Linked DNA regions of Homo sapiens: region 2 is linked to region 1. The links are contacts of gene promoters, found by promoter capture Hi-C in blood cells and fetal thymus (Javierre and others, 2016). All regions are on one chromosome and are shown on one strand. Each heading gives the region's core, a stretch centred on a gene start or on the middle of the fragment in contact. The rest is flanking DNA. Distances are from core to core; before and after follow the strand shown.

What was found. The method cuts DNA at HindIII sites, captures the fragments that hold promoters and counts their contacts. A CHiCAGO score of 5 or more calls a contact.
Region 2: a fragment that was not itself captured here is called in contact with the fragment with the promoter of THAP5 in region 1 in 1 of 17 cell types (total CD4 T cells); the score reaches 8.7 in total CD4 T cells.

Annotation. Positions count from the first base shown.
Region 1 is chr7:108,564,974-108,570,999 of GRCh38, forward strand. THAP5 (THAP domain containing 5) reads right to left here and starts at 4,733. Exons shown (of 3, transcript NM_001130475.3): 1 at 4,517-4,733; 2 at 857-1,049; 3 at 1-132. The coding sequence starts at 4,596. It overlaps DNAJB9 (DnaJ heat shock protein family (Hsp40) member B9), which reads left to right and starts at 4,901. Exons shown (of 3, transcript NM_012328.3): 1 at 4,901-5,130. RefSeq lists enhancers at 4,316-4,795, 4,329-5,056. The HindIII fragment of the contact is 6,219 bases long and covers 3,790-6,026 here.
Region 2 is chr7:118,174,450-118,180,435 of GRCh38, forward strand. All of the region lies in intron 1 of LOC105375470 (a long non-coding RNA gene), which reads right to left. Among named protein-coding and RNA genes, the nearest start is that of LSM8, 6.7 kb to the right of the region's middle. The HindIII fragment of the contact is 7,095 bases long and covers 1-5,986 here.

The DNA.
Region 1 (6,026 bases), core at 3,483-5,982:
CACATCTGTGTTAACTATATTTTTCTTTGTCTCATTTAATACAAATGATTCTTCTGACTTGGCTTTTGGGCATACTTCTTTCTCATCTTCCAAGTTTTTCTTCTGGGATTTTTTTTTAGAAGGGTCTTTTCCCTAGAAAATAATATTTTCATGTTCTGAAAAAGATGACTTTTATTGGCTTATTATGCTAGTGCTATTTAATTATAATATTGAGTAGTACACTGGCCAAGCAAATTTATTTAGTTAAAAAAAAGCTCAGAGTATATATACCTTAAAGTATTTTCTAAAAAGCATTAATCCCATTCAATATACGGCAGAAACATTTCAGATCATTCAAAAGACTAGTATATTGGGAGGCCAAGGCAGGCAGATCAACTGAGGTCAGGAGTTCAAGACCAGCCTGGCTAACATGGTGAAACCCCCATCCCTACTAAAAATACAAAAATTAGCCGGGCGTGGTGGCAGGCGCCTGTAATCCCAGCTACTCAGGAGGCTGAGGCAAGAGAATGGCTTGAACCCAGGAGGCAGAGGTTGCAGTGAGCTGAGATCGCACCACTGCACTCTAGCCAGGGTGACAGAATGAGACCTTGTCTCAAACAAAAAAAGTATAAAAAATAAAACTCATGAACTTGTGTTAATAACTTAATAATGTATATCTCTTGCTTCTCTTAAGCTGTGCTTCATGAGTTTAATTTTTTTTAATTATCACTTTTAGTAAAAGCACAAATTAGTGCTCCCTTTTTTCCAAGTATCTGTTTACCCAAGTTATAGTTCCCTCTTACTCTCCCACCTGATCACCTGCCACCCTGAAATCTGCCACTCTGCTCAGCATTACCCCTCTCCCATACTGCAATACCTGATTGTCTTCAGGCAAAGAAAATATTGTTGGAACTGCAGTTTGTTTTAAATATCGAATACCCCATCTGATGTCAAGAGAGTCAGGAGTAAAATGGTCACTACATAGAAACTGGTATTTACTGGGAACCCATGAATCTCGCTTCATATTCTTTAACCACTTTTCCAGTCTTTCTTTGTCATGTAGAGGAAATCTGGAATTTAAAAAAAAAAGAAGAAAAAAGGAAAAACTTTGCTATATTTTTACAATTTTGCCAAATTCCCACCCTATATATCTGGGTAACCTATGCATCAAGTAAGTACTACAAGAGGAAGGCAACCATCCCTACCAAATAAGAGCATCTTCATGACAACTAGTACCATTATCATCTCTGCAGTAAGAGGCCTAAGATGTAAGACATGTAGCCAAGGCTCTTATCTGATAAGAGCTGAACATAATTCAGAGTCCCTTCAAGTAAAATATATGTGTTCCTATAAAGGACAAAATCTATTTGTATTTTCTATGGATTATGTTCCATTTTTATATTGCTGTACAGTTTGCCTAGAACTAGAAAAAAGGTTTGTATAAATTATAAATTCCTATTCAAATGTATTTCATAATACCACCACATGTCAAATGGCTTGTTGTCTATAATTCAAGGCAGTATTAAGCTTTACAATCTTATTTAATATTTAAAAAATAAGATGTTATTTCAAACAAATGATTTAGCTGAAAAAGTACTGAAAATATTCTCTTTACTAGCATCATCTTTAATTCTATCTATAAGTAATCTAGTCTAATAGTACTACACTTCTATAACCAATGAACTGGGAACTCCAAATTTCAAGTTCTGAAGGAGAAACTGATAGAAGAAAAGAATGGAACATGTTAAAAGGGACAGTCTCAGATATTTTATATGAAACAAATCAAATACAAATGGCAAGACAGCGCTGTATACATTTTGTTCCTGTACCTGACAATAACCTGGATTTAAAGTTGGTGCTAACATTACAGTGTATGGCAGAATTTGATAGAAAATTTTTCCTATCAATCTAAAAAGGTTTGGGTCAAGGTATACAAAACAATATTTGAAAATGGTTTATATTCCATTTGGTACTTTTCCAAGAACAGAGTCCAAGACACCACATAATTTCCTGTTTTTAAAAATAGTAACAATATAAGGTTTCTCATATAAAATGTAGCTGTTATACACTCCCTTCCCGCAATCCCAATCATTTAGCTTATGTTTTGTAGTAGCATCATTTTTTCCCCCTAAATTCTGGTAACTTTTTAAGATGCCATGGAAAGTCTGGGTACTCTGTAAGATATAACTTTTAATCCTGATATCCTCATACGGAAAAAAATCAGATAAACTACCTTTGGAAATTCCAACCACAGAAGCAATATTAATCATGTTTTAAAAATATTTTAACTTTACAAATATTAGGTTGTAAGTATGACAAGCATAACCAGAAAAGGAATTTTAAAGGCAGACAAATTTTCTTTTAGAGGACCTGACTTCTTCTGGCCATTGGTAAATTCATTTCTTTTGTTACAACTGAAATGAGAATAGGCCTTTTACAATAATGCTTTTTACTGTAAATTCATGTATATGGATGCTGTTTGCAAATTATTTCCATTGTACCTATATGCTAAGTTATCAACTCATTAAAAAAAACTTTGTGAATATCCTTATTGTTTACTGGATTGTATTGCTTCAATAGGTAAATCTCTAAGAAATCTTGATCATGTTTCCTGAATAAATTATGTCTTTATATTGGTTCAATTCATTTGATAATTTTGTTTCATTGTCTTATGTAATTCCCCAAAAGGCATAAGATAATCACAGTACAAACTGGACACTATATTAACTGAATTCCCAAATTCATATACATTTAAACTACAGTTTGCTGTAGTGTTAACATGAGCAAATTCAATTCAAGTTTGACGCTACTGGAGAATAAAACTAATTCAATTTTTATTTTGTGGATTACACAAGAAAATTTTTTAAAAACCCTAGAAATAATACAACTTTTACTAAATTCACATTTTCAGTGAAAAAAATCTTTACAATTCACTTGCATTATTTTTTCCTTCCTAAAAAGTTACTGTAAGGTCCACAAAGTTTAGTTAAAAATTTCAGTGTGGGGTTATACCCCATCTCCAATATCAAAGGCCAAATAAATCTGGGAAATACGGGGTTAAATCAAGTTCAACATGATCTTTTGCTACAAACATTCTCAGAGATAGAGCCATTAGTACAGTAGTATTTCCCTATAAACTGAAAGTGGATTAGATTGTTTTCCTCCCCCAAACATCTCTTTGCATCTTGAGGCTGGGCTTCAAGGGAGACAATCCTGGAAATATTGCCATGGATTGTGAATTACTTGGGGTTATCAGTTTTTTTTTCTTTTGAGACGGAGTTTCGCTCTTGTTGCTCAGGCTGTGGTGCAATGGTGTGATCTCGGCTCACCTCAACCTCCACCTCCCAGGTTCAAGCGATTCACCTGCCTCAGCCTCCCGAGCAGCTGAGATCACAGGCATGCGCCGCCACGCGCAGCTAATTTTGTATTTTTAGTACAGACGGGGTTTCTCCATGTTGGTCAGGCTGGTCTCAGACTGCCGACCTCAGGTGATCTGCCCGCCTCAGCCTCCCAAAGTGCTGGGATTACAGGCGTGAGCCACCGCGCCTGGTGGGGTTATCAATTTTTTTTCCATTAATTAAAATACTGGAAAGCAGCCGAATCATTAATGAATAAGTCCTTCAGGTCTAAAGTAAAATGAGCACAAAACAACTGCTGAAAATCTGAACCAGGTTAGATCTAAATGAATTGTTTTTAAATACAAGAAAAAATGGAAATGCAGTATTTTAAATATGTTGCTTTTCATGTGTTATTAATCATGTGAGTACTATTAACATCTCCATGTTACAGATGAGATATGTGAGACACCAAAGCTTAAATACTTTCCAAGAGGTCATTAAGCTACAGAATAGTGGAACCAGGATCTAGCATTGAAGCCTGGACCCCTAATTATTATACGACACTGCTTGTCTGTACTTCTGAATAAAAATCAGTGCTTCAGTAGTTTGATGGAAATATATCGTGGCTCTAGTAATTCAGAGTAACAGAATAAAACCTTGTTCTCCGCAGAGTATCTACAGCCCTAAGCAGAAGACTAGTTTATAATTCTGGCTCTGACACTAAACTTTCAAGGTCGGTTACCTAATCATTCCGGGCCTCAGTTTCCTCAGGAGAAAAGTGGGATGAAATTATACCTATGCGACCTACCTCGCGGGGGGTGTAAATTAACTTTGCGTGCACCTTTCCACTTCGCAGGTTTCACGTATCTTAAATGGTGGTTAATGTTGTTCAATGAAATGAGATCACGTGAAGTGGGGAAAAGACTGAAAACCACAGAAGCCCGCGCAAACTTTACTGTTTTAACTGTTAACACCCAAACAGGCTCCTGGGCCTCGCCACCAGCCAGCAGTCCTCGCGCAAGAAGGGCATTGCTAGCTAAACTGAACTAGCGCCTTCCCTCCGTCTTGCCGCGGGCGACGGGCCACGTACGGAGAGCTGAGGACTCACTGGCAGAGCGGACAGGAGACACCCAAGCCCAAAGGCCACAGGTCCAAGGCCTCACGGCGAGGCTGACGCTTCTGCTCCAGAAACAACTTACGGATAAAAACTCAGCTTCCGGTCTTTATTGTTTCGTCCCCGGCGGTTCTTACAACAAATCGCTGCGCAATAGCGGGGCATGACTCGGGTGAGGCCCCTGGAGACCGGGGCCGGCGACGGATGCAGGGCGGCCCTCCTCACTGAGGATGCGCCACAGGTCCAGGCCTCTCGAGCCCCTGCGCCTGCGCTAGCATTCTGCCGGGAAAGCCGCCTCGTCTGTCGACTCACTTCCGCCTCCTCCGGTTTAAGCACCGCCTTTTCGGGGGTTGAAGCCGGAAGTGGCGCACAGCCCTAGCAGCAACAACAGTTTTCCACGTGCGCGTAGGGCGCCGGGATCACGTGGGGAGGCAGAAGCCAATGGGGAAGCGTTTCGTGTAGGTCTTCTGAGGTGGTGGCGCCAGCGGCTACCTCCTGCCTGTGAGGAGCTGGCTGAGAGGGGACTGGGCGCCGGCGGGGAAGGAGGAGCGCTAGGTCGGTGTACGACCGAGATTAGGGTGCGTGCCAGCTCCGGGAGGCCGCGGTGAGGGGCCGGGCCCAAGCTGCCGACCCGAGCCGATCGTCAGGGTCGCCAGCGCCTCAGCTCTGTGGAGGAGCAGCAGTAGTCGGAGGGTGCAGGTGAGGGACGAGGCCGGGGTCGTGGGGAGGGGAGTTCGGAGGGTCCCCGTAGCCCAGGCCTGTCTTTGTGAGCTGACTTGGCCTCGGTGTCCGCCACGGTCGCCGCAGGGACAATGGGCTGCATGTTTTTGGCCGAGAGAATGGAAGAACGGAGACAGCCGCATCACAGAATCGTGTTTTGGGTTGTGGCGCCGGCTTTCACGGGCGCCGGATTAGAGCCCGGGTCTCGGGCAGCTTCTGCGGCGGGGCCTGGGCGGGCAGGGAAAGTGCCAGTCGCCTTTAGGTGAAGGTTGGAGGGTCTAGCCCAGCCGCCCACCGAGGCTGGGGAATAAGGCACGGGCTGCTGGCTGGCGGGGCCGTCTTGGGGATGAGAAGTCTGTACAATACAAAACTAGTCTGCTAAAAAAAAATCATTAGATGTCCACCTTGAGACCGTGGAATAACGTCTGCTGAACCAGTGAGGCGCCTCCCTGTCAGTTTTAGATCCGCCCTTTGACTAGGGAGCAACCTGCAGTTGACGCAGCGTCCATGGGACACACTGTTGTGTTCCTTAAACCGAGAAGTGGTTCTTGATTCTTGGTACCCGTGACTACGAGTAACTCTCTGGAAATAAGTAATCTACCTGCCTGCTAATTACTCTCAGGAAAGGCCGCTGGAGAGGAAGCCAGGCAATTTCCACAAACCGTAGTGTTTTTCGTCAGCCTTATTATGGCATTATAGGTTACTAAGGACTCTGGTGGTCCCGTATTCAAAAAACAGGATCCATCCCTTCGTTTTGAATCTCAAGTCATTGAATACATATTGTCAAGAATTCTAAGTTAACATTTCTTTAATGGTTTAAAGGTAAAAGAAATATTTTAACTACTGAGTTTGTGAAAGTAAGAATCTGCCTTAAC
Region 2 (5,986 bases), core at 1,689-4,188, 9.6 Mb after region 1:
GACAGAAATTCTAAAAACAATAGGTAGTAGGGTAGGTAGGGAGGAAACAATACAGACTTTCTCTGAAGTCCTCTGAGGTTTTGTTATGTCTGTTTATTCTCAGTGCAAGAGGTCAAGTTCAGAAAAATGGAAGAATCATATCTCAAAGCTAGTCAAAAATGGGCATTATGAGAATACATGAGGCCGGTCAGAATGATGAATTGGTAATATAAAAGCTCTGGAAATCTCATTTGTTGACATTAGAAAACAGCGGTCTGCAAACTTTCTGTAAAGAGCCCGATAATAAATATTTTAGGTCTTGTGGGCGTCTGTTGCAATTACTCAACTCTGCTGTTGTAGCCTCAAAGCAGCCATAGATGATATACAAATTAATGATTGTGGTTGTGTGCCAATAACATTTACTAACAGAATGATTTCCCCAAGGTTTGTAGTTTGCCAACCCCTGTTAGAGAAAATAGTAATGATACAGATACTTAATATTGAAGAAATGGAAAAAATGCCACAGAGGCAGAAAAGTGTTGAATCTGTCTCTTCCTCTTTGTAAAGAGTTAGGCCCAGGAATCTGAGGAAACAGTCACAACTACTCAAATCTGAATAACCTTAAGTGATCCTCTGTCTATATATGTTGGTTATTTCTTGACACTACTGTGAATTTTTCCTGGGCAACAATCTCAATGGCAGTGCAGCACATTGGAGCTTGACTGTCTAGGTTTAAAGACTGGCTCTGTTAATTACCAACAAAATGAGTTCGGGCAAGAAACAAAACCTAGAGAAAAAAAGAGCAGAAACCACTGGAGTAACAGAGGTGTGGAACACAGTAGGTACTTGACGAAGATGACTTAAGATTTATGTAAAGACTGAACATGTACCACTACTTGTCATGACAGTGGAGCATCCACTTTATAAGAATGACAGTATAATGAGAAAAACACACAAATATATTAAATAATACTTTGAAGAAACTCACCTTTTACTTAATGTCACCACAGAGGAAATTCTGGGTAGAAGTTTAGAATTTACAAAGACTTTGTGCCACAGAAAAAGATGGCCATGAGCAATAGTACTTAAGTTGCTTAGAATGAATAAAAAATGTTCAAAACCTCCTATGTACAGTATAGACACTTTACTTTTATCCAGGAAGACAATAAATTAAGAGGTTGCATATCTGTATCACTTTGTATTCCTTCCATAACAAATCGCCACAAACTTAGTGGCTTAAAACAACAAAACTTTATTAACTTACAGTTCTGTAAGTCTGATATGGGTCTGACTGGACTTAAATCAAGGTGTTAGTAGAATGTATGCCTCCAGAAGGAGGCTGTAGGGAAGAATCCATTTCCTGCTCACTTAGATTTTGGCAGAATTCAGTTTCTTGCTGTTGTAGGACCAAGGTCCCTGTTTTCTTGCTGGCTATAAACTAAGAGCTGTTCTCAGCTTCTAAAGATAACCACATTTCTTGGCTCATGGCCCTCTTCCTCCAACTTCAAAGCCCATCAACAGCAGGACAAGTCTTTTCATGTCACATCTCTCAGACCCACTCTTCTGATTCCCTCTTCCGCATTTAAGGACTCATGATTAGAGGGGGCCAGCTGAGTAATCCAGAATAACCTCACCATCTCGAGGTCCTTACCTTCAATCACATTTGAAAAGTGCTGTTTGACATGTAAAGTAACAATCACAGTTCCCAGGGATTAGGATGTGGACATCTTTGGGGGTTGGGGGGGTAGGAGAGATTATTCTACCTTCCACAATATCTTAGTTGCCTTTCCTATTCTTCCCATTGGTAGTGACATCTGAAAAATGTCAACCTGCCTTTGAGTATTTGGACTCAAAGGTATACATATTCCTTCTGATTTCCGAAAAAGTCTACATACAATAGCAATGACGTATCCATGGATATGCGCTGATCATATGTACATATAAACTCAAAATTTTGTCCTTCAAGTAGAACAGTTACTTTTATTATTAACTATTGTAAGAAGCACTGAACTAGAATCCAGGAGGCCTTGATTGTAGGTTCTACTATGTAACCCTAAAAGAGTCAATGAACTTATTTGGGATTCAGTTTCCTAATCCACATGACACAGAATGTAAATTTGAAAATTCTTAGGTTCCCTTTTAGCTCTAAATATCTGTGATCCATAGTCTGAAAGAAAAAGGGTGGAAGTGGGAGAGTCATTCTGATTTGTTACAAAAATGAAACAAAACTTATATAATGAGAATTTATCAAAAATAAGGGAAAGCCTTGATTTTTTTCTGCCCCATATGTTTTTAATTTAAAATTTTTTTTTAATATTTAGGGGGTACAAGTGCAGCTTTCTTACATGCATATATGAAATCTGGGCTTTTAGTGCACCCATCACCTGAGTAGTGAGCATTGTACCCAATAAGTAATTTTCAACCCTTATTTGCTCCCCATGTGTTTTAATGTAATTTCAGGCATTTGCTTTCTATTGGTCACTCAAGGTTATTTATGTTTAGCTTTTGTCAATGTAATTCTTATACTTCACTCTCACTATTCCATTTACATTTCTATATACCTTCTTACATTATTCATCTCTCATTGCCTAACCTCAGTATTTTTCTCCAAAAAAAAAAAATCAATAAATTAGCATTGCTCTACCTTGCCATACAATGTCTGCAACAAGTCCAAATCAATCTGTTCCTTCTGTGTGGATTATAACATTAAGGAATGAATTCAGACTGAAGATCCTAGTGACCTAAGTAATTTCTGATATCAATATTATTTTCCAATTTTGGCATGCAAAAAATTCAATGGAAATGACAGTATAATTTTACCTGTATTGCAATCCAAGCTGCTAAAGACAATTTTTAAAAGCCAAGCAAAACAATAAAAAAGAAAGCAAATGTACTCAGCTTAAAATAAAGTTCCCTAATCTGGTTCACTATAGTGATAACACATACATGGTAATTTATTTTTTAAAAAAAGATATTGAAAAATGATCAGGTATGGGTGCTCCATTTGGATTAGTCATATGCTGTATGTGCTATTTAAATAAAGCTGCCCAAGTTATACGAATTCAAGTACCCTTCTAGGGCAAAGTCAGAGGTGGAAGAACTGCCTACCTAAAGAATTACTTGGTGCTAAAGGACAGTATGAACCACAGAAGGAGATAAGTAAAACAGGGGCAGGATGACATTATTTAAACTCCAGATTCTCAGTGGAATACTAACATAGTCTGTTATGTTACAGTATTGTCTTTTTTATTTTTTATTTTTGAGACAGGGTCTAGCTCTATCACCCAGGCTGGAGTGCAGTGAGAAGATCTTGGCTTACTGCAATCTTTGCCTCCTGGTCTCAAGGAATCCTCCCACTTCAGCCTCCTGAGTAGCTGGGACTACAGGTGCGCATCATCACGCCTGGCTAATTTTTTGTAGTGACAGGATTTCACCACATTGCCCAGGCTGGTCTGGAACTCCTGAGCTCAAGTAATCTGCCTGCCTTGGCCTTCCAAAGTGCTGGGGTTAAAGGCATGAGCCACTACACCCAGCCGAGTACTGTTTTTTATAGTACACATGAGGTCACATGAGATTGTTAAACAGGAGAGTAATGTTAGAATAATAGGGAAAGTGGGTTGGTTCATACATAATTTTTCATAGCACTTTAATGCTTTGTAGTACAAAGACACAATAGCTGAAGTACAATTATTGCACTTAGTTTTGTGATTGAACCAGGCCTGGGGGAGTATAGCACTCAAATGATGACCTTTCACGGTGTGGGACCCCATTCTTCCCTGGGCTTGGTTCAGCCATATGCTCCATTTTGATAGTGCTTATTTTGCAGCTCCCTCACATCTTTGGGCAAAAGCGACATCAGACAACGAGTCAGAGCCATCCATCTCTGGCAACTCCACATTTCCTGCAAAGTTTGCAACTGCTTCTCCATCTGCTACTTCTGATGATCTCCCGCCCTTGTTTCCATCACTCATCAGTGTCTACCCTTCTGTAAACTGTCATTCTTTAAGCAACCTTCAACTTTTTTAAAAAGGTAAAACTCTTTAAGTTAATATAACATTGCTTTATTTGTTAGGAGTTTTACACGTCCTTCTAAATGAACTACTATTTTCATTTCGGTTGTTATTGTCTGTTAATACTACAGTTCAGTGGTTGCCAGACTTTGTTGTTTATTAGTTAACTACGGATGTTTTAGAATACTGAGGCCCAGCTGAACCTCATTCTATTTAACTCAGAATGTCTTGAGTGTGGGAGCCAGCTATCAGTTTTTAAAGATCATATCAGTAAGTAGCAAAGTTTGGGAACCACCGCTCAGTTGTTCAGAGTTTGAGAGGGCTTTCCCAGACTTATTTTTTCCTTAGGCTCTTATTTTAAGTGAGCCATTTTCTTAAAATGTGAAGATTTTCAGGAATGTATTATACACAGCATATTATAGCCAGAATGTTTTGTCATTTTTTGGCTTCTGCTGTGGTCTGGATACTGGTGTCCTCCAAAATTCATATGTTGGAACCTAATATCCAATATGATAGCATTAAGAGATGGGGTCTTTTGGGAAGTAAGTCATAAGGACTCTGCCCTCATGAACAGGATTAGTGCCCTTACTGAAGAGGTTGAACGGAGCAGCCTTGCCCCCTTCTGCCATGTGAGGATGCAGCAAGAAAGTGTCATCTATAAGGAACAGGCCCTCATCAGACACAGAGTCTACTGTTGCTTTGATCTTGGATTTCTCAGCCTCCAGAACTGTAAAAAATAAATTTTTGTTGTTTATAAATTACCAAGTCTAATGTATTTTGTTATAGCAGCCCAGTTTCCAAAATAAAAATAATGTAAAGGGAGAGCAGGATTTGGGGAGTAAAAAATGGCTGGTAAAAAAAAAAAAATTTTTTTTCTTTTTTTTTTTTTGAGACCAGTCTCAGTCTGTCGCCCAGACTGGAGTGCAGTAGCATGATCACGGCTCACTGGGCTTAAGTGATCCTCCCACTGCAGACTTCCAAGTAGCTGTGAATACAGGTGTGGGCCACCATGCACAGCTAATTTTTGTATTTTTAGTAGAGATGGGTTTTTCCCCATGTTTCCCAGGTTGGTCTTAACCTCCTGGGCTCAAGCAATCTGCCCACCTTGGCCTCCCAAAGTGCTGGGAATACAGGTGTGAGCCACTGCACCTGGTCTAAAAATTTTAATAATAAAAATCAATTTTAAAAATACCATAAAGAATGCATAAAAGCATACGTAAGTATTTTATTAATATATATTGCCCCTTATGAGGTGAAACAGAGGGCCTCCTGAGATATACCGGTTCTCCAGATCTTTAAGGTAAAGTATATGCCCGTGTAAGTATCACCAGTATGTTCCGTGGCCTTGCCATTGGCTAGTGAGCAAAGTGTATCATGTTTACACAGTTCTACAGATTGGCCCCATCTACTTTGTTAACAAGCAGTCTTGCCTTTTCCTGTGTCTCCCTAATCTTGCTAACCTCTGATTCACCAACCACCATTACTATGCCACCTAGGATTTGCTGTCTGCCTCATTTCTTTTCTTTTCCATTTTTAGATAGGGTTTCACTCTATTGCTCAAGCTGGAGGGCAGTAGCTCCAACATGGCTCTCTGCAGCCTCAACCTCCCTGGCTCAAGCTATCCTCCTGCCTCAGCCTCCCAAGTAGCTGGCACTACATGTGCATGACACCATGCTCAGCTAATTTTTTTTTTTTTTGGTGGAGATGGGGTTTTGCCATTTTGCCCAGGCTAGCCTCAAACTCCTGGACTCAAGCAATCTTCCTACCTCAGGCTCCCATAGTGCTGAAATTACACGTGAGCCACTGGGTCTGGCCTCATCACCTTTCTTAAGCTCTGTCTTCAAATCACTTTTTTTCTGCCTCTCCATTCTTTTATTACTTATTAACCTCTGTGAGCACAGAATATGCCTCTCCATTCTTACTGCTACAAATCAGAAACGCATATCTGAACTCCTGCTGGCCTTTTTATCTTCAGTTTTTACCTCCGCTAAATATTA